Linked DNA regions of Homo sapiens: all the other regions are linked to region 1. The links are contacts of gene promoters, found by promoter capture Hi-C in blood cells and fetal thymus (Javierre and others, 2016). All regions are on one chromosome and are shown on one strand. Each heading gives the region's core, a stretch centred on a gene start or on the middle of the fragment in contact. The rest is flanking DNA. Distances are from core to core; before and after follow the strand shown.

Region 1 (6,787 bases), core at 3,572-6,071:
TGAATGCTTCACTAGAATAGGCTAAGAGAAGAGACTACCATGTTCCATATATGGATGAGTCCCTGAATAATAAGAGGAAAAAGGGAAGAATAATTCCCATTTTTCCTCATGGATGCTTCAAATTTCTAATGTCTTCTACACCTAATTAACTTGCGAGGTGCAAAATGGAAACAATGGCACATGTTCTTCATTTCCGTATTTAAAAAAATTTTCACTCACTCTGGATGGCTAGCAACCTAATGCACAGGACAATGTTGATGAGAATGAATGGGATCACGGATTTAAGCCACTAGATTAGGATTTAAAAAGTACAGCCTCTCTAGAGGCAAATCCAGAAGTATACAAATGATGTGGTGGTGGTACATCTCAAAGTGACTTTTTTGAGACAAAGTCTCACTCTGTCGCCCAGGCTGGAGTACAGTGGTATGATCTTGGCTCACTGCAACCTCTGCCTCCCAGGTTCAAGCAATTCTCATGCCTCAGCCTGCCAAGTAGCTGGGATTACAGGCGCATGCCATCACACCTGTCTAATTTTTTTCTGTATTTTTAGTAGAGACGGGGTTTCACCATGTTGGCCAGGCTGGTCTCAAACTCCCAACCTCAGGTGATCCACCCACCTTGGCCTCCCCAAGTGCTGAGATTACAGGCCTGAGCCACTGCACCTGGCTGTCAAAGTGACATATTTTATACCATATAACTAAGTCTCATGTTCAAATGACATGTTGTGAAACAGCATCACTCAAGCTAAATTACCCAATTAACTAAGATAATACATTGGCATTTAGCTCAGTGCTGGCAGATAATTAGCATTCAACAAATGTTACCATTCATTCCATGCTGCCACTGGGTCAAAATATAGTTTCCATATTGGCATAAATTATGCAAACTGTAAAGAGTCAATGAAAGAAAGGACTCCTATATAAATTATCTGGATTTTTTTTTCAAAAACGATGAATGATAAAAAGGGAAAGGCACTGTTAAAACTCAGCTTAAAATGTACTAGACAAAGTGTCATCACAGTGGGATTATGCTGTCAGGAAACATAACATATGTACATATGGTACTATATTTCAACATTAGGAGGAAAAAAACTATATCTAATGATCAAAGAAAAAAGGATATACTCACTTGTCAACTGAGCTTTGGATAATTTTTCACTACAGCTATAACCATGACTGCTTTGCTGTAGCTTTAGCCATTCCTGGGCTTGGAACAGGTAGAGTTTAGCTTCTTTTCCAACAGCTACTGCTATGTTGTTGATTCTGACACACAGAAGAGCATGGTCACCTTGACATTAAAACAAAAATCATCAACTAGTTTGGTCTTACATGAAACTGAGACATGAGGACAACTCAACACCTCTACTTACCAAAATGGAAATTTAAAAAGCACAATTCTTCTTAAATCTCGCTTAACTAGGTAAATCACATCATAATGAACACAACATTCAGAAGCAAGAGATTATTCAAATGAACGTGTGGTATTTCCTTGAAATTCAGCTGATAACTGATATTTCACTCAATAAACCGCAATATCTGGGGTATTTGAACAATTCACTGTATTAAAATTTTTGCCTCACTTTACAACCACTTCACATTTTATATTTTATTCATAATCTATAGAAATGTCCCACCAAAGTTTCTGTTTTTTAATATGACATAGGTGTTAATATTTAATTATACTCTTAATATAAAAAATAAACATAGCTAATAGCAGGAAAGTTTAAATGTATGTGTTCTGGGGTAGACATATTATACCTAAAACAAAATTTGGTATCTACGACTTTTACAAAAGAACTTTCAGGGGCTGGGCACAGTGGCCACACCCGTAATCCCAGCACTTTAGAAGGCCAAGGTGGGTGGATTCCCAGCCCAAGAGTTTGAGACCAGCCTGGGAAACAAAGTGAGATCCTGTTGCTATTTAAAAAAAAAAAAAATTAGCTGGGCTTGGTGGCTGAGCCTGTAGTCTCAGCTATTCAGAAGGCTGAGATGGGAGGATGGCTTTAGCCTAGGAGTCTGAGGCTGCAGTCAGCTTTGATTACACCACTGCACTCCAGTCTGGGTGACAGAGCAAAACTCTTTTTTTTTTGAGACAGAGTGTTACTCTGTCACTCAGGCTGGAGTGCAGTGGCGCAATCTCGGCTCACTGCAACCTCCACCTCCCAGGTTCAAGCGATTCTCCTGATTCTCCTGCCTCAGCTTCCTGAGTAGGAGTAGCTGGGATTACAGGCATGCGCCTCCACACCCAGCATCACCACATCCAGCTAATTTTTGTATTTTTAGTAGAGACAGCGTTTCACCATGTTGGCCAGGTTGGTCTTTTTTTTTTTTTTTAATTTATTTTTGAGACATATTCTCGCCCTATTGCCCAGGCTGGAGTGCAATGGCACGATCTCAGCTAACTGCAACCTCCGCCTCCCCGGTTCAAGCGATTCTCCTGCCTCACCCTCCCAAAATAGCTGGGATTACAGGCACCTGCCATCATGCCTGGCTAATTTTTATATTTTTATAGAGACGGGGTTTCACCATGATGGCTAGGCTGGTCTTTAACTCCTGACCTCAGGTGATCCACCCACCTCAGCCTCCCAAAGTGCTGGGATTACAGGTGTGAGCCACCACGCCCAGCCACCAGGTTGGTATTGAACTCCTGACCTCAAGTGATCTGCCCACCTCTGCCTCCCAAAGTGGTGGGATTACAGGCAGGAGCCACCCAACGAGTCTGGCTTCCTTTTTAAAAAAAAAGAACTTTCAGAATAATATATGTTGTAAGATGAATACAGAATGAACCTGGTTGCACACACCAACTACATTTAAGGCCCAGAACAGAAATGGCAGTAAGTTATTGCCTCTAGGGAAAGGGATTCTGGGTGAAAGAGCTAAGACAGGAGACTGTTTTTCATTTTAAGATCTTCTATTCTCCTGGAAATTTTTTTTCTATGCTTTTATTACTATAATTACCACTTTGATTAAACATTTTAAATATATTTAAATATACAGTATATATATCAAAGAATGTGCAAGTCTCTTACATAAATTGATTACATATTTTGAAGTCTTACAAGTGACTCTGAGGCCCAATTGACACTGTAAATTGCATTCCGAGTTACAGTTCATTGTTTCAGTATAGTTTTTGTATTATTATTTTACTGAATTGGGATTCATGAAAATTGGTAATAACTATATGTGATTTTACACATATGAAACAGAATGAACGCACTTGAAACACCTTATCCCCAATCTGTCTTGAGAAATCTGAATTTAGTACATGTTTCTCCTCCACGTTTACCAGATGATCATCAGGAACTATGAGGTCGTCCAAGTCTCTCTGCTGGTCCTAAGTAATAACCCACGTCTTCTATACATCCCACATTTTCCAACACTGTCCACATTGTGCCATTTAAGACAGTGGCTGTCAATACTCAAAGTATGGTTACAGTCCGTTGAATGAGAAACTCAAAATGTTACAAAAAATAATAAAATTGTTTCTAGTGTTTCTTCTTCATTCACCCAAAATATATTCCACATTGGATTTTGAAAAACTGGGTTACTGAAACTCCTTTTCTTAGCTATCTTAAAAACTTCAAAAAAAAAAAAAATCAGGATCCCTTCCCTTTATTCTGTCAATTCTGTAATTTCCCAATACTTTAAATTCCTTTTCTCACCAAAGTAGTTCCGTTTCTATTATCTTCTCCTAACAATATTTTCTAGGCCAATATTCTGATGTTCATCGTTGCATCTTTTAATGCTAAAGACTGTACAAATCAAAGTTCCTAATGTCATCAAGGCAAATAATTATTTGAAATACAGCACTAGTCAAATTAAGAGTACCAAGAAAAACACTTAAATTGTGAGAGTGCAAATGAGACCAAAATTAGAATGAATTGCAAATGCATTTATTGAAGGAATAATTACTGATTTTTGAGGAAGACCAAAAGGTCTGAAATCAAACGCAACTCTGATTTCAGAAGAGCCACACAGAACACAAATTAGGGAGCTTCCAAGATGCTACTTAAATGCATTTTCATCAGCTTAATTCTAGGCCTTACTGCCCATAGTAAATCTACTGCCCTAGTAGCCAAGTAACCAAACTGCTCAATATAACAACTACATTATCAAGTGTTTTACTTGGTTTCCAAAACCACTCTGTTGCAAGTAGGTCTCAGGAAATTGGTCTTTAAAAAAAAAAAAAAAAAAAAGGAAATTTAAGTTTCTAGGGTTAAATTCTCCCGTCACAGTGTGGCCGAGACAGGAAGGAGCAAATATGCTTCTTTGCGGGAAGGATCTGGAAAGATGCGGCCGACCAGTCTTTTGCACATTGGCTTCCAAGGGGAGGGTTGGGGAAATGGAAACCAGCTTTCAGGTGCGGAACACGATCACTAGTGGCGAGAGGCCGCTGCCTGGGGCTGGAAAGCCGCACCAGCGGGGTTGGCAAGGAACGCATCCCACCATTCGCGGCAGCTGCTGCAACGCTGGAGGTCCAGGTGAGGCTGGGGAAGTCGCCGGCCTCGCCCAACGTGGCAGGGAGGGGCCGGGAGGAGCGGCCGGCGGACTCAGCCGGCGGGATGGGCCAGCGCGCCTTCATCCCCCTCCCCGCCCCCAGACCTACCATGGAACTCGAAGTGGCCGATGCGCTGGCCCTGGGCGTCCTGGGCCGCGGTGCTGCTGAAGCTGCCCCGCAGGGTCTTACCCTGGCTGCCCTGCGGCCACCAGCAGCACGTGAGGGCCACAGCCAGCAGCCGCAGCCCCCCCATGCCCGTCTCCAGGTCTGCACCGACGCCTCGGCTCCCAGCCGCCGGCGGCTGCCCGCCCCACGTCGGCAGCTGGGGGAGGCGGGGTGGGCGCCGGAGACCTGCTGCTCTGGAGCCTGAGAGCCAATGAGGCGGGCTCCTCTGCCATAAGCCGAAGACATTCACCAGTCAGAGGCCGAAATGGGCGGGACGCGCAGATCCTAGCGTCCCATCAGTCCCCGGCTTTTGACTAGTTCCCGCCTTTTTCTTTAATGAGGAATCAGGAGGATGTTGCTTCAGGTTACGGAAAACTCATCTCCCTCCTCATTGCCTAGCACGTCTTGCTACTGAGCATGCGCGGGCGCGCTGGCACGAGTCCGCGGGGCCTTCGAAGGGCTTGTGGGATTCGGAAAAAACTTAAGAAATGCAGGACAGGACTGTTTCTGGCCGAGAGAGTTAAACTCCCGCAAAGAAAAAACTGTGTTCTTATGCAGATTTTCTTCCTTGGCGCCTGTATAACCTACAGGACGTGTCCGATTTAATGTCTCAAAGACACTTAGCTCCGCATGACCACAATTTAACGCATGCCTTCTCTTGGCATCTCCAGCCGATTTTTCCCTCCTAGGTTCTCTGGCTTCTCGAATTACATTACCCCCACCCCCACCCCCGCCCGCAGACCAGACCGCTGGGAATTGTAGGCCCCCCCCCCCCCGCAATTCAATCAATTCAATAACAAGTGTGGATTAGCCCTTCTTCTGGTGAGGGTGGGAAGCAGCGGCCACAGTCCTACTCAGTTCATCACTTTGTTGGCCTATGGCAAAGACCGTCTCTACAGTCTTCATTCTAATTGGCTACAATCCATCTCTACCCTACAGCCACAGAAAGCTGTAGGAAACAATTTGCTGCACTTGCCTTGAAAGGTTCTCAATTGCCTTTAGCACACAACCCAAACTCTAGAATATGGCTCTTCAACTCTCAAATGTCTGTTTTTTCTCATCTCCATCCTTACCGCCGTTGGTTTCCTGAACACTCCCAAGTTCTCCCTTCTAGGCCTATATCACTCCCTGATCCCTCTGGCTAGAATACTTCTGCTTATTCCAACACTGGACCTCCTCACCTTCCTTTTCCTCCTTTACTCCTCCTTCCCAAGGCACTTTAAGAAGCCTTTCTCAAACCCCTAAGTCTGTAGTAGATGCCCCTGGAACCAGAATCCCTTACTTCCCTACCAGAGCACTCACGCACTGTACTGTAAGTATCCATTCATGTGTCTGAAATCTCCGCCTCTATTGTCAGCTCCAGCTGGTCAGTGACTACACTTTTTTTTTTTTTGAGACGGAGTTTCACTCTTGTTGCTCAGACTGGAGTGCAATGGCGCGATCTCGGCTCACCTCAACCTCTGCCTCCCGGATTCAAGCGATTATCCCACCTCAGCCTCCCGAGAAGCTGGGACTGCAGGCATGCGCCACCATGCCCGACTAATTTTTTATTTTTAGTAGAGATGGGATTTCTCCATGTTGATCAGACTGGTCCCAAACTCCCGACCTCAGGTGATCTGCCCGCCTTGGCCTCCCAAAGTGCTGGGATTACAGGCGTAAGCCACCTTGCTGGCTATACCTGTCTTAATGAAAGTGAGGCAGGAGAATAGGGCCTGGGGTGAGGGAACCTAAGGCGTTTTTACACCGACTTTCTAGAACTATTAAAGGAAAACCCTAACTTTCCACCCTAAGTAACAAAAGGACCAGAGGCTATGCCCTTTGCAAATCCCCACCTTTTCTGTGAGGCAGATAAGAAATTGGCTGTCCCTACCCAGTCAGACTGATTGCCAGCTGAGTCTTCGTTTGCATAGAAGTGCAACTTTGTAACTCTGTAACATTGCTTTTTGCAACCAATCAGATGTTTGCACAGGAGTGTGACCTTTGTAACTCCACTTCAGCCTCTGATTCATTGCTTTCCCCAAGAATCAGACCTATTGGGGGCCACCACTTCATTTATATGAGGTGAGCTCCAAGTGGCCAATGGGAAACTTCTAGGGAGTATTTGGACCCAAGATGATTATGTGTC
Region 2 (6,432 bases), core at 2,191-4,690, 2.4 Mb after region 1:
TGTTCAATTCCCACCTATGAGTGAGAATATGTGGTGTTTGGTTTTTTGTTCTTGTGATAGTTTACTGAGAATGATGGTTTCCAATTTCATCCATGTCCCTACAAAGGATATGAACTCATCATTTTTTATGTCTGCATAGTATTCCATGGTGTATATGTGCCACATTTTCTTAATCCAGTCTATCATTGTTGGACATTTGGGTTGGTTCCAAGTCTTTGCTATTGTGAATAGTGCCGCAATAAACATACGTGTGCATGTGTCTTTATAGCAGCATGATTTGGTTTTAAAGTAAATGAAAAGTGTGCAAAATATTAAATTATTAAAGTAAAAATTAAAAGATCTGGGCTCCACATCCAGTTTGTCATCAACTAGTTCTATGGGGGTGAATATTTATTTAAGCTTTTTGTACTATGTTGCTTGATTTCTAAAATCAAACATTGATTGTATGATTGTTAGCTTTTCTTCTAGTTCTAATATTTCATAATTTTTTTTCTTGTAAATTAATAAGGAGCATAAGTTCTCTTGAAAAGTTGACATGATACTAATTGTAAAAAATGTGCTTCAGAAGAATGCTATCCTAGGAGATAATGGAATTCATTTGTCTATTTTTTTTCTCAGCATTTTTCCAGTAGAAAGAATGTGGGATAATTTAGTTTATATCATTCTTAAAGATGGGGAAAGGATTATATTAACAACTCAAGTGACCTTCAGGTTCTCAGACCCTAAGAACCCAGTACAATAAAATGTTTGTGCTTGACTTTTTAAAATGTTGCACTACATTTTCAATAAATGGGCACTAAAACTGCCTGTGGCCTCTGAGAAAGATTACCGTCTCTTATTAGAAAATCTTTGGTTCTTAATGACCATATCCTCCAGTGTGCTAGTGTGTAACTATTTGTTTGTTCTAGTTACAACGTTTGGTCTAAAAACACTACATCAAAATGATAATGCTTCACATGCTTTTGAATTATAACCGTAGTCTATAGTAAGTGGCTATTTGCTTCTCACTCACTTGATTAGCTGTCCTTTAGCATTTACTCCTATTTATTGCCTCACTAATCTGTCTGAATGTATAAACACTAATCAAAATAACAAACACTTTGAAGGTTAAGAAAAACACAAAACATAGCCTGTTCTGCATGCTAAATCTATCTCAACTGGAAACATTAGGTATGTGATCTAGATACATTATTCCAGAACTGAAAGTAAAAATATTACACTGGCCTCTGAAAATTACTAATGACCAAGCTACAGTTACAGTATTTTCAAACCATCATTCTTAAAATGAATAATAAAACATTTTTACATTCTTTAGTTCATCTAGAATCATGTCACTTAATGTTTGAGACTGACTTCTGACATAATCTATAGTCCAAAATCTTTATAGTGTAAATGAAGACCTAAGTATTTAATTGACTTTCCTTAGACAGCACAATTAGTTGGTGATAGCACCAAGGATTAAAATTTAAGTAATCTGATTACTATTGTAACAATCCTGCTACTTCACAATGTTGCCAAAGTAACTTCCATGAAGTAAAAATCAATTTCCCTTATTACTGTATTTTGTTGACATCAAAGACTCCATCAATTGTCAGATGTATTATTGCTTTATGTACACTAAAGAAAATTCCTGGCAAGGTTTCACATGCTATCTTAATACTAATTCTACATAATTTAGTCATTCAATATTCTTGTGTTCTTTAATTTCTTTTGTCTCTTTCAAGACATCTAGCAATCTCCCCCACCTGTAGTTGCATTGTACCTGAATCAGTAACCTAGCATAGCTTCATCAACTTGTGGGAATCCTACTATCTTAGGTCTTCTAAAACACTTGGGTTTTGTTCCAAAAGAAAAAAAAATGGAATGGAGTTCATTCTTCAGATGCTAAATATTTGCTTCAGGAATATCAAATGCATGCATCACTGCTGTGTTCTAGAAACTTTCTGTGAAGACAATATGTATTTTTTTGTTTTCATGCTGAACCATAGTGTAACCTGTTTTAAAGATATCTTCTATGACAGTTGAACCCAACACTTGTAGTATCAACCATGCACATCAATTGAAGTGACAATGTGCCATGGCTGCTCCTCGGCCAACAGCAATGTATCAAATATTAGATTTAACCAAGTGTCACTGTTGTAACTTAGAACTGATGAAATACCATTTTCAACCATCTCATCCATCATTTTATGTAAAGTTTACATCTTTGTCCATAACATTAATATCTTCTCTTCAAGAGTGAAAGGCATAAATAATGGCATCTCAGACTTTTACAGAATAAAGATCATGAATAACCTAAACAATATCAGATCTTTACCATTGGCATTCACTAAAGTCCAGAGATGATGACGTTCAGTATATCCTTAATGATAGGGAAGATGAAAGAATAGGAAGAGAGAGAAGGCGTAACCTCCCGTGTGTGTGCGTGTGTGTGTGTGTGTGTGTGTGTGTGTGTGTGTGTCTGAGTGCCTGTGTGTCTGTCTGTTGCTCTCCCTACACTCCTCCAATTTATTCTGGGAAATGTGTCCTGAATTCTTCAGTTTAGATACACTTCTCATACTCCGACCCTGAGGTCACAACAGGAGCCAGCATCTTTTCCCGTGAAGCTAACTCCACAGTTACAGTTTTTGATTTAATGATGCCACCTGACCAGGGCTCGTCCAATCATTGTACCTAATTCTTTAGCTACAATAATTGGTCTAGCTTTGGGCACATGATCCAATCGAATCCAGTTGGAAACTCCCCCATGGTTTTACAAAATGAAGCTGAAAGCTGGAATTTTTAGATAGGTATGAGGATATAAGCACTGATAATGTCTGAAATCATGCTTTTAACCTTGTCAAAAAACAGTCTGAGATAATTTGTTTGGAACATAACAGAAAATGAGAGGTAGGGAGAATCTCAACTGTTATAATTTTCTAGTTCCTCTTATTGAGGCCTTGTATAGTTTTATGTGAGCCAAATAATTACCTGTTTTGCTTAAGTACATTCGAGTTGAATGTCTTGCATTTACCACCAAAAGAGCTCTGGCTAACACAGTTACTGAAAAACAAATGTGTGCTTAGCAAATGTTTATGATTAAGGGTAATACAGCCGTAATTGTTTTGTTTGACAGCAAATGTCACTTAGTCACATCAAGTAAGAGCACAATAGCGTTCATAGATGTGAATAAAACACTCATTGAGATTGATTTTTTTCCTCTTAATTTTATTCTGAACTCATGTTTTAAAAGAAAACGTGAGAAAAATTTTATTTGGCACTTGGAAAAAGGGAAATATAAAAGAAAGAAAATTAAGATGAATTCAAAGTACACAGTCATCCTTTCCTGGTATGTTCTTACATAATCAAAACAAAGCTTGGCCAAATTTAAAGTTAGAATGGCTGTGCTTCATATTCTCAATGAAAATACATTGAGCAAAGACTTAGGTAAGTATAAGTGTTTTTCAGCATGACATACTAACAAAATCCAGGTAATCCTCAGCTTGCTCTAAAGTTTTATTTTAAAAAATGTATATTGCAAGCTTTTACCTGTACCTATTTTCTCAAAGAAATTCCTGAGACACGATGTTATATACAGCAGTCTAGAGGGATTTCTTGTGGCTTTTTTTAAAAAAAATTGTGTTTAAATTGATACAGGCAGTGTCAACATTTCTGCCTGAATTTTAAAATAAAACTTCAATGCTTTTTTGGTTTATTTCAAAGGGGCAAGTCTCTTGCGTGGACAGAAGACAGTCCCAGGATAGATCCAATTCTAATATTTCTTTAGTAGTGTTGGAATATTGGGCCTTTAATATTTGCCTATAAAATAGCCAAACATACAAAGTGTAAAAATAATGACCAATGTTCTCTTTGTAATTACAGTCTAATTGAAAGTAGACAGTATTTCAAGTCAATATTTTATTTCCAACAATGATGGAACCTACTTTAAATTTTTATGAAAGAAAATATCTTTTTTTATTATTCAATTTTATCTCAAATATTGAGAATTAACCATTTTCTATAACTGGAGACATTTATATTTTGGAATTAAATGAAAAGTCTATTAATTTGTTAATTTTGCATCCAACTTAAATAAGGGGTGATTTTGGAATAAGTTAAACCCGCAGATATTTTACATATCTTTTTATATTGAGTGGGTCAGGCTAGAAGTTGCTGATTGTGGAGACTGAAAGACACAGGTCCGTGCAGTAAAACAGAAAAATGCACTTTTCAAATATTATTTTCTGCTCCCTAACCAAACGATGATCACATATGCATGTTTTACAGAAGTAATAACCTATGTGGCAACAAAAATCCAATTCTAAATGGGCCTCATGCCCTAGCTTTAGTACTACTGAGCGCTCTGTAATTTCCTTTGATGTAGCATTGATGTGTCAGTTAGTGGCAAATTATTTTTCCATAGAAGAGTATCAAACAGTATTTTTTGGCTTCCTCTGAATGCTAAGCACTTTTAAAAATGAAATACAAAAATCAATATTGCTTATGAAAAATACTTATCATCTGTGTGTCTGCTATCTCTATGGTGTCTCAATTTGAGTATGGAATTAATGGAATAAGACCTGGTTCAGACTCACCATTTTCCTTCTCATTTTAGTATATGACCATTTCTCGGTTTCTGAGATAGAGATGTGACCTACTCTCCCCAAATTGTCAGAAATAATTTTTTTGGGGATCCTTTTATAGCTATAATTTACTTGCAAAGATTGTACGAATGCCCACTCTGAATCAGAAGTGAAAATGTATCAGGTCAATAAGTAATCTTCCCATTGGCTTCAAAGGCTAGACAGCTGGTGATTTCCTCTTGACATCAGTCTTGACGGGAGCAATGTGTCTACATCCTGACTTTACTCACTGCCAGTCTGCCTACATTTAATCCACATCAGTCCACATTAATCCACATTCATGATGGAAGCAAGAATAATATTTGAGCTAATTTGGTCATTCAAATATCTGAACTATAAGTCATCAATTTGGACTTTAGAATGCTGTGGGGAAATCATCATTCATTAAGAAAGAAGTATTATTAATTAATAAGGAGCATATCTATGATCTGTCAATGAGGTATCAACCAACCTATCAACAGAAGAAATTTTTATTGGACATCTCTTAGTAACAGGCTCCATCCTAGGTTAAAGGATATAGAGGAATGTAGCACCAGTAAGGATGCTGTTCTCATGAAGGTAGCATTTTAGTGTGGAGAGACATATCATATACAAATAGGTAATATATAGACAAACATGTAACAAGACATTTTTAGATTGGGATAATTTCTCTGATGTAAAATAATAGGATGCTATGATATTGGGGGATGGCTGAATTATTCAGATAAAGTCAGAAATGATTCCTCAGAGAAGGTGATATTTGACTTTAGACTGAGAAGATAAGAAGCCTCAGGTCCAGAGTCAGGCACATGAATTCCAGGAATAGGAAAATAACAAGTGCAAGGACTTTGAGGCAAGGATTTTTTTGGCATGTTGGGAATCAAAAGAAGGCCCACATGGCTGCAATGTACTACTGTTGGCATGCAATGACTCAGAGTGGTAGAGGTGGAAGTAGGGTATCATACGGAGTTGTTTGGGAAGCAGTAAGACATCTGGATTTTATCTTAAGACATATGGGGTGCCTGGCTCGGTGACTCATGCCTGTAATCCTAGGACTTTGGGAGGCTGAGGCAGGTGGATCGCTTAAGCCCAGGAGTTCGAGACCAGTCTGGGAAACATGGCAAAGCCCCATCTCTAGCAAAAATACAAAAATACAAAAAAAAAAAAAAATTAGCCAGATGTGATGGCGATGCCCTAAAGTTCAGGCTACTTGGGAGGAAGAGATGGGAGGATCTCTTGAGCCTTGGGGGTTGAGGCTGCCATGAGCTGAGGTTGTACCACCACACTCCATCCTGGGAGAAAAAGCGAGACCCTGTCTCAAACAAACCCCAATAGGAAAAAATATATGTGGTTTGCCCTTCAAGTGATTTGAGCAAAGATTTAATCTTTGTATATAAATCATATTTTCCAGCTTCCCTTTTACTTCCTGATATCTAGATCTACCTACAGCGATCAATATAGTTATAAAGATATAGATAGGTATAGACGTTCTATAGATATAGACGGATGTAGATACACTTATTTATGTCAATATTATTTATATCTGTATCTATCATATATCCCTCTATATGAAGTCTGTAAGAAAATTTATGGTCTGGGGGTTTTTATCTTATTATTTTTTTTTCACATCCTTGGAACCTCAGAGAAGGGAAATTGTGAGTGAAGGGAAGAAGAAACTTCCAAAGGGTATTAGGAATACCCTTTAAAAGGGAGGTGCTTGAATGAGCTCTTCGCAGGAGCGGAGACTTTGTTAGAGTTGCTATCCCCCACTGCTGTCTGTGGTGCGACTCACTTCCCTCATCTTCAGAGTTCACTCGCTTTTGTTGCACGA
Region 3 (6,185 bases), core at 3,630-6,129, 2.4 Mb after region 1:
GTAGAGACGGTGTTTCACCGTGTTAGCCAGGATGGTCTCGATCTCCTGACCTCATGATCTGCCCACCTCGGCCTCCCATACTTATGGCGATCGGAATTTTCTTAACACTGAAACTCACCAAAATATGGTTTATGAATAAATTTTTGAAAAATTACTAAATAGAACTTTGGCATAACAATTTTACATTTTGTATCTACTTAAATTGACTCATTATACCCATCAGATGTCTTAATAAAGAAATATTAACATTTTGAATTTTGTAATTCAATTCACATTAACAAAACATTGAGTTATCAGTTTAAAAGTGGGGTTACTTGATCTTTGTTTGAAAAGTGGATTATATTTTGAACATTGTTTTTGAAGTCACAGATCGTTTTTTACTGATAAAGTCAGTTTTTCTGTTTGGCCAGATGTGGGCAGCTAGCTTCTGGGTGACATTTTTCAATGCCTTCAAAATTTGGATAGAATTGTTAAAATATAGCTGTAAGGGAGGAATAATCAGGGAGGTAAACCTCTTTCCAAATTAATCAAATAATATAATCCGAAACCATTAGCTCTGAATTTCTCTGTTCTTTTGGATTATTAATTCCCTGGCAAAAAAAATAAATAAATAAACAGAAAAAATTTGAAATGTTAAATGAATGGCTATTTTATTGAAGGAAAAGTTCTAGTTTCCCAACCCAGCTCTCAATACTCTCATCTTTAACAAACATAAACTTACCCTGACATCTTTTTTTCTGCCACTTGATTCCCAATGCAAACCTACTCAACATTGAGCCTCCTTATTATCTATCCTTTAAATCTTCTGTTCAAGTTCTTATTACAATTGCATAATGTAGGACAGCATCTTTCCATTTTAATTTAATCCATTGACTGGATAAGGCCCACCTCAAACTCTTTTTCACCATTTTGCTTTCTTCTGCATTTTCATTGCATGATTTCCCATTTTAGAGAAACAATGGGATACAATACACAAACATCAAACTGAGATGTCAGGAAATCTGAGCTCTCATTTCTAGTAGGTTATGTATCTGTTTTGCTTTCTTTGTTCAGTTGCTTTTAGGGCTTTACTTTAAAAAATCTTCTAACTTTAAATCCTAATAATACACATTATCATTTACACAATCCACATGTGCACATTTAAAATATTAAAACTTAACAATATCACCCCAGCAAAATTGTACTATCTGAAGATTTTTAAAACATTACATAGCACTTAGCATGATATATAGCAATGATTCATGTATTCAAAGCATTAATTATCTAGCATACCAAGAGGGAAATTTTATTTATTTTTTGTTTGCTTGATTTTATTCATTCATTAGTCAGATTTTCCCCAAACACAAACTACATTCTGAGAATAAATTAAAAGTGATAGTACCTTGTTTGGGTTTACTTTAATTTAGTAGCAAGAAATTATATGTTGTGGATCTTCTTGTCTGAGCTCATCTCCATGATATCATGTGAGTAGTTTTAATTTTTTTTTCTCCTTCTAGTCAGGACTTATTGAAGAAAACTTTAAAGACTAGCTATTGTGGACTATCAGGAAAGAGAAGTAGCCCACAACCAGGCTGGCTATAGCTATTGTGGACTATCAGGAAAGAGTAGTAGCTCACAACCAGGCAGGCTTGGCAAGTGGGGATTAATTGATTTTTGTTTGTTTGTTTGTTTGTTTTGGCAACTGGTGTGTAGAAAGGTGATAAGTTTAATAAGACAATTCATATACAATTTTAGTAGCTGAAGGTGTATTTTACACGCACCTTTTTCTCATTTAAAAGCACTATCTACTCACTGTAGACAATTAGAAAGTAGTGATAGGACAATGAAAATCACCTGTAACCATTTTACAGCTGGTGCAGAGGTTCAGCATCAGGATTGGGATGGGAAGGAAAGAAAATTAACAAGAAAATTGAAAGATGGGAAATTAGTGGTGAACGGTGTCATGAACAGTGTCAGCTGTACTTGTAGCTATGAAAAAGTAGAATAAAAATTCCATCATCACTTTGGATAGGAATTAGCTAGGAGAATGAACAAGCTCAGTTGAATGAGAAAATCTCCATACGGCTGCTTTTTTTCTTTTCATTACTGTGTTCAGTGATCTTTATCACAAACATTTTACATGCAGCTATTTCAAAGTGTTGGATTAATTAGGATCATCCCTTTGGTTAATGAATAAATGTGTTTGTACTAATAAAAAAAATCACCCATAACCATAATACTTAAAGGTGACCACTGTTGACATTTGGAGAATTTACTTCTGCTCTTTATTTCCACAAATACATACACATTCACAAAGAGAAAATCCAGCTTAAATTGTTGTTGTGATATCTTATTTCCAATTTTCTTTTGTTTTATTGGATATTATTTTCCCATTTGTTAAAATGCAGCTTTAAAGATTATGGAATTTCTTGTGCAGAAACCCAACAATTGGAAATGAAATTAAAAAGCTAATTTAAACTGCAGCCTTAAACAAAAGGAATTTAGCCCTGTGGTATAAATCAGGTTAACTGTGGGGACTTTTCAACCAAACCTGCAGTTTTCATGCATAAGCTGGGTATCCTGGACCACCACATGGAGAAAAACTGCCAATTAAGAAGACCTGCCTTGAATGCTAAAAAATAAACATTTGAGCATATTTGTTATAGTAGTTTATTCCACCACAACTGAGAGATTAGTGGAATCCATTGTGCCTGTCTTGTGACTCAAACCGAAGTCCATAGTCTACATTGTTTGTCCACAGTAAAAACCGTAGTAAATCATATTCATAAAATTTTGTTTAAATTTAGGCTGATATCTTTCCCCATCTAAAGTTCAGTTAATTCACCTATACGTTTTCATTATCCTTTTATGATGTCAAATGTTATCTGTTTAATCTGTACAAATACTTTGCTTTAAAAAATTCAATCTTCCCATGTGCCAGAACAGAAAGTTCTATGATCATATAAATCATCAAAGTTTTAAAAGCATATAATGAAACTGAAAAAAGCCACTAGGCCCTGAATATTTTTCTTGTATGTTAGATTCGGCAATATAACATTATAGTATAAGTAATCTATCATTTAGCTAGAAGTAGCCTACGAAGATTATGAGCAAGTGCTATGCCTACTCATTGATGAGAGAATTCTAGGTGTTAAAAGATACACTGTGACCAAGTTATTAGTTCAATAGCATAGTGAGTTGTTACTTTGACAAACTCTTGTGGACAGAGAGACCACGACAAATTAGTTCAGTCAGAGCCTAGCTGTTGAACCTAACATGGTAACACAATTCATGAGTAAGCTCAGACTATGTAAATATCTTGAGAAAACAAAGTCATCAGAAACCCTTCCTTTTAGGCATCTGCACTTAGCTGTGTCATCTGTAAAAGAAAAAGAGGGCCATGCTCATCTGGAAATAGTTCCAGTTTGACAAGATTATAAACCAGGATATTATCCTTTATTTTTTTCCTTTTAATTGAAAATTTTTTTAGGTGGTGAGGAGTATGTAAGAGTTTTTGTTTTACCCCAGAGCTAATTTAGGATTCTTGGCCCAAAAATGTCAGTTCGTTTTTACTTAACTCCCAAAGAAACTATTAATTACTCATTGTGCAAGGAGAAAAAGATGCTAATGAACAAGTGTAGTCATTTGATGACAATACATTTCAGGTGTCATGAAGAATCCTAATAGTCTACGTTAGGATACTTTATTAAAAATACAATAAACTAGTTTATTTATTTATTCATTTATTTTTTGAGACAGGGTCCCGCTCTGTCACCCAGTCTGGAGTACAGAGGTGCAATCTTGGCTCACTGCAACCTCCACCTCCTGGGTTCAAGCGATTCTCCTGCTTCAGCCTCCTGAGTAGCTGGGACTACAGGGCCACCACACCTGGCTAATTTTTTGTATTTTTAGTAGAGACGGGGTTTCACCATGTTAACCAGGATGGTCTTGATCTCCTGACCTTGTGATCTGCCCACCTTGGCTTCCCAAAGTGCTGGGATTACAGGTGTGAGCCACCGTGCCCAGGCTAAACTAGTTTATTTTTAAAGAAAATGTTAAAATTCCTATGCTGGTAGCAGTTTGGACTCAAAAGATGCAAAATAGCATATATTAATGTAAGGAATTAGCAACTGTTGATATATAATATTAACACATTTTAAGGAGCTGGCATATAAATATATAATATACAAACACTATACAAAAATTTAATAATAGTATATATATAGTAACTTGAGGTTAATAGTATATATCAGAAATTACTATACTGCTGGTATATATGTATATATGTTATATATAAATATATATATTAAAATGATGGGCCACAAGTTGAAGGCACTAATAGGCAAATTAACCAAAGTGGCAAATACCTCCAGTTTTATATGCATTTTCAGTGGAATGGTATGAATGGCTCTTTAAATAAAGAAAACTCATATCCACATCTGCTGACATGCTTTTCAGGATTTTTGTTTGACTACTGCCAATTTGAATCCCTAGACTGGAATAAACGCAGAGCCATCTGTTCTGATGCGCCTGCTGTGACAGTACTAGGCTCACTGAAGCAATTGTTTCTATTACCCTTAGTATTCATGATAAGCTTCCCTTTGCGGCATCCCTTCGGAATAAATTGAGCCTAACTCGTATCAGGAATATAATTAGGTTAAGAGCTTGGTAAAACTTCCATGTGCCAGAATAGTTTCAGTCTTTCAGCTCCAAGCTTCCAGAAATGTTTATTGGTGGTTTGAACTTTTTATGCTATTCCCAGTAATCTTCCCCTTCATTAGCAAATGACTTCTGCAAGTAGAATACTGGGGCATCTTTAATTATATATAATGCCTGAACTGAAAGAAAATAGAAAAATAATGGTATATCGAAGCCAATTTTCGTTGAGCTTTGTTGTAATTAATTTAAACTAAATAGTACTGTGGATGCTATTCTGTCACTAGTCTTCTCAAGGTAGGAATGTTTAAAAGAGGAGGCTGAGTTTAGGCATGTTATTCAGTGTTGTCACATGAAGACCACAAAAAATATTTATCAGACAGAGCCTGTGAAATAAACACAATTTTGCTGACATAATACAGAAGCTTCTGGGATGCAAGAAATCATTTTAATCAGAGACTGTGCATATCTGATCTAGGTTATTCTGAAGAACACAAAAAACATACTAGTGGCTATTCTGTTATTAGAATATAAAAGAGCAAAAAAGAGCTTTATAAGGTTGAGATGTAAGTAATTTGTATAATTATAAAAATATAAAAATTATATGAAGGTACATATTTGAAATCATTGGAAAGATCAACTTTCCATCAAGATAGGTTAATCATTTGAAATAAGGAAAGTGAGATGGGATACGCTAACACACCTTTGAAAATATAATCCACATAATTTAAGGCATTGTCATTACATTAACAGTGAAGATGCAGAAGCCCAGCAGATATGATGAAAGTCAGACAAGGGGAAGATGCTCAGGTTGCCAGAGGCTAGACTGGCTTAAGGGGCTAGAAAACAACATGTTCTGATACAAGTTGAGATGCCGTGTAAAAGCCAGAAAGCTTGTGGTTTTCAGAAGCCAGGGGTCTGTAAGCCAAGAAGTTAACTGAGATGCAAAACAACAAGCTGGTGACAACAACGGGTATCCAAAATCCAAAAAGGCAGATCAATCAAAACAATGATGGAAATAAGGGTATCCAAAATCCAAAAAGATAGATCAGTCAAAACAATGACGGAAATAGCAAAAGATGGGAGGTCATGTCTGGCTTGTTTACAACTATAGCATAGTGGCAGGGTGAAGCAGTGCCTGTTATATCATTGGTAGTTAATGACTGATGAAGGGATAAATAGATGGAGAATTGAATTATCCAGCTGTAGATACAGTATGTAAAGAAGCAGTGTATACCTAGGTCTCCAGTAAAGGTAAAGTGGTGCCTGGTAGTGTGCTGGAAATCAGTAAACTAGGGGCTGAGAAGTGCTTGGATGTGGCCGTTGAGGTGAGGAACCACTGGGCCTAGCTCCAGGCACTCTGGAGGGAGGTTCAAAAATGGTGGGATTAGGAATCTGGGGAAGGTTGGAGGTCAGATGGAGAGAAACGGAAAGGGAGGTCTTAGAAATCTAAAAGCCATTGAGACAAAGGAAAATCAGAATCCAAAGCTTTGATGCCTTGGGTCAAACCCTTCATTTATTTTTTTTCAAATGAGCATTAGCTATTGGTT
Region 4 (5,817 bases), core at 2,812-5,311, 2.4 Mb after region 1:
TGTAAAAGAACATAGATACTTTCATGCCTATAATCCCAGCACTTTGGGAGGCTGAGGCAAGTGGATCGCTTGAGGTCAGGAGTTTGAGAACAGCCTGACCAACGTGGTGAAACCTCATCTTTTGTATTTAGTAAAAATGCAAAAATTAGCCCAGTGTGGCAGTGTGCACCTATAATCTCAGCTACTCTGGAGGCTGAAGCAGGAGAATTGCTTGAACCCAGGAGGCAGAGGTTGCAGTGAACCGAGATGGGGCCATTGCACTCCAGCCTGGGTGACAGGGCAAGACTCCTCTCAATTAAAAAAAGAACATTGGGACCGGGCTCGGTGGCTCACTCCTGTAATCCCAGCACTTTGGGAGGCCTAGGTGGGCAGATCACGAGGTCAGGAGATCGAGACTATCCTGGCTAACACAGTGAAACCCCGTCTCTACTGAAAATACAAAAAATTAGCAGGGCGTGGTGACGGGCGCCTGTAGTCCCAGCTACTCGGGAGGCTGAGGCAGGAGAATGGCGTGAACCCGGGAGGCGGAGCTTGCAGTGAACTGAGATTGCGCCACTGCACTCCAGCCTGGGCGACGGAGCGACACTCTGTCTCAAAAAAAAAAAAAAAAAAAAAAAAAAAGAACATTGGTATTAGTGATTACATAGAGCAGCAATTCTAGTTTTTAAGAAATGGAAGAGATAGGATAACCAGCATCTAGGGATTTGGAAGAGAAGTATGCTTCTCAAATGGACAACGGGAATGTTGCCCTTCCAAGGTGATGCTCATACCTGAGTCCCCGCCCCAAATTGCTGGCGCTCAGACTAGCGATGGAGGTAAAGTTAGCTGGTACCTCCCTTCAACGGGTTTATCCTAGCTGCTAATATAAGAGCTAAACATGTCTGGAGGCTGGGGAGTGACTCTCTGCTTTGATGTAATGCCAGCAGAAAAGAAACCAGACGAAGTGCTTTCCCCTCTCCCTCTTTTAATCTCCTTTTAGGACTTTCCATTGGCAGAAAAAAATAAAAGTATAATACCTGGAAGGAGAATCAGGGAAATGTAATTTATAGGGAGTTGAGGGATTTGGTGGAGGTTGGGAAATGTAGTTTACGTAAGCACAATTTACAGAAGAGGAGGCTCAGATCTGTGACAAAATAGGCAAATCACCAGCACAGTAGCTATAACAGTCTTCTGGGTTTTGAAGTATGTGCCTTCAGAATCATAGAACATGTGAGCACCACACTCATTTCACTGAGATATGGGAGAAAATGAAAGAGTTTAGTTTGGTCAAAAGCATCTGGGTGCCTTCAGAATAATTGAAATTGGTTGTCTGAAATGGCAAATAACTAAAAGCTATTGTTCAACAGTTCATAAATTTTGATACCGAACCAGCCTCCTCTCCTTAGAGGACCGCTCTGCCTAAAAAGATTACATGATGGCTGGAGTTTCCATATCTCAGCAAAAAACAGTTTTAAAATAGTATTTCACCAAGAGTGTAGAGATGGACAATACAGAAGCAGAGAGACCAATGTGACCAATTGGGCAAGAGATGTTGAGGAATTAAACTAAGATAGTAGCAGTGGGGATGTGAAAGAAAAGAAATTTAGAAGTAAAGGCAATGGGTCTTATTAAATGCGGGGCGTGAAGGGAGAGGAGGAACACAAGATGACTCCTGAGTTTCTGTCTTGGAGGATGGTGAGTCATAGTGTTGTCAGAAGAAAAAAAAAAAGGAACAACTGAAAAGAATTGAGAGGAAAGTTGACAGGTTTATTTTTAGACGTATTGAATGAAGACCTAGAGCTAACTGTTATCTAAACATCACTGGAACTTCTTGTATTATTTGGGCATTGTGTTTTGAATGTATGAATTTTCCTTTGTAGATTTTTCAGTTGAATAAATCCATTCTTTTCAGAATAAGTCTAAACGGCTCTATAGGACAACTGTATATATAGGCTTCTGCATTGTAGAGGCCACCAACTGCTTTCTCAGCCTCGTCTATCATTCCTTCCTCAAAAGTGGTGCTCCAGGAAGAGTGCAAACATTGAGCTTCCCTGAAAACACTGATACTTGAAACATCTGTACTTTGGTAAATGCTTTGTCTGTCATGAATTTTAGTCCACTCTCCATCTGATTATCTTTGGTCCTCTATTGAAACCCAGCTCAGCTATAATTTCTAAGATGATATTCTTAAGAAAATCCCCATATAATGGATCATTCTCTACTATTTATGTATTCTTTATTCCTCATATTTCTCAATTTTATGTATTTTTTACAGTTCATTTTAATGTATTTACTGATATACCTATTTCCCTTTCTAGACTGTAATTTATGAGTATATAGCTGGGATACATCTTTAAAAGTCACACCAGAAACAGTGAGATTTCTCACAACTCATATGCTGAGAAAATACTAGTTAGGTATATAATGAGATAGTTTAACTCAACCAAGTGATAAAATATGAAAAGGGGAGGGGAATAAATTCACAAAAGAGGAAACACAAAATGGTCATTAAACAAAAAATAACGATAAACCTCACCAGAATCAGTTTTTGCATTTCCTTTATGTTGACTAAATTTTAAACATGTTTCTTCCTAACATAAGCCCCTAACTTCTTTTTCTTAATGCACTTACTTTAGAACATTTGTAATTGTAAATTCTTTCTCTTCCCATTTGAGATTTAAATCTTCCAGTTTCTTGCCTGTTTCAAAAGCCAGGATTCTCTTTTTCAAGGAGCCATCTTTATGAGATGTAGTCATCAAGACAGAACCCCTATCTCCCAGTCTCTATGTCAGGGAAGCAGCCTAACTTTCATAAATACCAATTAGCAAACACATATGACCTAATCACATTGACCAAGCTCACTCCTAAGACCGGCCAAATACTTTTTCACTAGCTCTCCCAGGTGCATAAAACTATCTCATCTTTTGGTTCAGTGGAGAGTTCTCTCTCTTTCCCCTACTGTAATCATCTTGAATAATGAACATCTTCCTTGCCTATTTCATTCCATCTGTTGCAATTTCTTTCATATACACAAAGATATTTACCATTTACATTTTAAAAATTCAGCAAAATTAAAAACTCTGAGGATATGAAATTATGGTACAAATCCAAAAATAGTCTACTTGGAGTGCTGGTGCAAGTATGAATTAATATAATCACTTTGAAGATTAGTTTTGCAACCTAATGGAATACATACTCATGCACAGAGAGGCTTGCTTGTAGCATTGTTCATTAAAATTGGAAATAATAGATAATACATTGTGGTATATTCATACATCAATTATAATAAAGTCTATTTTATCAGCAGAAAGACAAATTGGAGGCATATACATTTTAAAAACACTGCTGTTTAATATTAATATTAAAAATAGTAATTCTATATAATTACAATATATAAACACACATATATATGTAAATCAGGGGGAAAGGATCAAAAAGGAAGAGCATCAAGGTGTCATCTATTATGCTATATTTTATTTACTTATAAAATGAAAATGATTGGGAAATTCACGTAAGATAGCAGTGGTGGTTGCAACATAGCTTTGGGACATTCAGAAATCCTTACATAAAATGAAAAGACTAACTTGATAGCAAAATTAAAATCACATGGATACCATTTATTAGACTGGTGCAAAAGTAATTATGGTTTTTGCCAATTAAATAAAACAAAACTCAGTCAAAATGTCATCCTCATTAACCTCAAAGCAGAAATGAGAGAGAGCACACCACCAATGGTCAATCTACACACTATCAGCATGTGTGCAGAAGAAACAGAGGGAAGCAATGCAGCAAGTTAAAGCCATGAAAACAACAGAACCCACAGGATTTATTGAAAATCAATGTGAAAACAGCAGAGAACTGTGAACATTTATGCCCACACTAATAATGGGTGGATGCAAGGGCTCTGTTATAAGGCTAAAGGAAATAAAGTCTCTGAAACCTGCTGAACTCTTGAAGCTTAAAATCTGCCAAGTTTTCTTACCATTCAGGATGAGGGGATTCCACATACAAGAGTAACTGCTGAAAGTGGAAAAAAAATAGTGAGATAAGAATAACAGAAAGTTAAGAAGAGAAGATATGAATAATCACTGGGGAGAGAAAAAGACCAGAAATTTTAGAAAACAAGCCACCATATTTTTTGACACTACATGACGAGAACAGAACAGGAAACTCAGTAGATTTAGAAAAGCTATTGAAACAAAGCTTTATTCTAAAAATGAAGGGAATTTATATTAACATAAAATAAGCAACAAATGTTTTGAGATCAAATCTCACAAAAATTTATCACCATAAATATTGCATATTCTGTTATGATCTCTGCAAACATAGTAAGCACACAATCAAGATGTTCAAAAACAGACTAAAATGAGATATAGCACTTCAAAGCGAGCTAAAAGGCAGTAAGCATGGGATACAAGACACAAAGAAATAAACTAGAATTAGAAAATTTCAGGAAAGAAGTTAGAGATCTCAAAAAAATAGAAGAATGTAAATTCCTTCAAAAATAAATACAATGTGCAGAAATGCAAAAGCAAAAAAGCACCACTAATAATATCTTAAGAGAAACAGAAGGTAAAGAGGTGAATTTTTCCAATCCAAAAGAATTTGAGCGAAGATCAAAAAGGTTGAGGAAAAAGCTGAAGATAAAGAAAATTCAACAAACGAAAAATAGGTGCTCCTGAGGAAGAAAGTTAAAAGAAGATAACAAATTATTAAAACCATAATTCAATAAAAGCCTCCTAGAAAAATATTTAAAATTACATATTGAAAAAGTACACTATGCAACTGGAATACCAACTCAGAGCTACCAACACAAAATACATTCTAGTAAAATTGCTGTACTTTAAAGAAACAGAAAACAAATCATTGTGCACTGAGGGGAGAAAAGCAAGTGGCTAATAATGGAAAGAAAAACAGATTATCATTATAATTTTTGCCACTAATGCATTCTACCAGAAAATGCAGAGCTTATTGAAAAAAAATGGAAGGAAAGAACATGTGAGCTAACTAACATTTTTGTATTGAACAAAATTAATTTTTAAGACTAAAGGACACAAAGTCTCATCACCATAAAAGAACTCGTAAAATATTGTCCCCATGAGTCCTTTATAAGGAATACACTAGAGAGATATTGATATAAAAGCAAATAGTGAGCATTATATAGTTACAATAAATAAGAGCTAAGTGGCAGATATGATATGTGACCTGACACTATCTCTGTATCTCTAGTATAACCATAGAATGGGGAGAGAAAATAGACAATACATACAAAAATGTTTAGCTAATTTTAGTAATCATAATGCGTAAGGGCAGTTTTAGTATTATTCAGATAATGTGTTATATTTAATGTGGAATAAAGTGAGAAATTATGAAATATTTTAATTATCACCTATGCTTCTAAGAGCCATCATTAGTGCTCAGATTGCAGTCATGAAATGACATTTCCCAGTAAAACAAATAAAGTCTCATGTAAAAATGGCTCATTCCAGGTTTGTGACAATGGATAAGCTGAGCTTAGTACATCTAAGTATACCAGATGGCAAAGAAACTAGTAAGTATTTTAAGGGTCATCTCAAAGGACTCAAAGGCAAATGGAAAAGGTACCAGCTGGCAAAATGTGAGACAGTAAGAACTTCAGTAAAAATAAGAATTACAAATGTTTTTAAAACTGGGTTCATGATGACATTTAAATGTATATAAAAGAATTGGTCATCTTCTGAGAAAGGGAGGGAATCAATTTATTATCTTGAAAACTGGTTCAATAAAGAAAAATTCAAGAATCTATCCTTCCCTTCCTGAGGTCACAACCAAAAGAAGTAATGGATCACTGAAATTGAC

What was found. Contacts are between HindIII fragments. The CHiCAGO score rates a contact against its expected background, and 5 or more counts as called.
Region 2: a contact is called between a fragment that was not itself captured here and the fragment with the promoter of GPR180 in region 1, in 1 of 17 cell types (total B cells). The highest score is 5.1, in total B cells.
Region 3: a contact is called between a fragment that was not itself captured here and the fragment with the promoter of GPR180 in region 1, in 1 of 17 cell types (M0 macrophages). The highest score is 5.5, in M0 macrophages.
Region 4: a fragment that was not itself captured here is called in contact with the fragment with the promoter of GPR180 in region 1 in 1 of 17 cell types (M0 macrophages); the score reaches 8.4 in M0 macrophages.

The regions. Positions count from the first base shown.
Region 1 is chr13:94,599,891-94,606,677 of GRCh38, reverse strand. It overlaps GPR180 (G protein-coupled receptor 180), which reads right to left and starts at 4,821. Exons shown (of 9, transcript NM_180989.6): 1 at 4,606-4,821; 2 at 1,129-1,287. The coding sequence starts at 4,750. RefSeq lists enhancers at 1,934-2,433, 4,789-5,083 and a silencer at 4,411-5,010. The HindIII fragment of the contact is 8,659 bases long and covers 1-6,787 here.
Region 2 is chr13:92,197,004-92,203,435 of GRCh38, reverse strand. The region is part of intron 7 of GPC5 (glypican 5); the gene reads right to left. Among named protein-coding and RNA genes, the nearest start is that of GPC5-AS2, 150 kb to the left of the region's middle. The HindIII fragment of the contact is 166 bases long and covers 3,358-3,523 here.
Region 3 is chr13:92,176,517-92,182,701 of GRCh38, reverse strand. All of the region lies in intron 7 of GPC5 (glypican 5), which reads right to left. It also overlaps the pseudogene FABP5P4. Among named protein-coding and RNA genes, the nearest start is that of GPC5-AS2, 170 kb to the left of the region's middle. The HindIII fragment of the contact is 367 bases long and covers 4,696-5,062 here.
Region 4 is chr13:92,154,398-92,160,214 of GRCh38, reverse strand. The region is part of intron 7 of GPC5 (glypican 5); the gene reads right to left. Among named protein-coding and RNA genes, the nearest start is that of GPC5-AS2, 190 kb to the left of the region's middle. The HindIII fragment of the contact is 246 bases long and covers 3,939-4,184 here.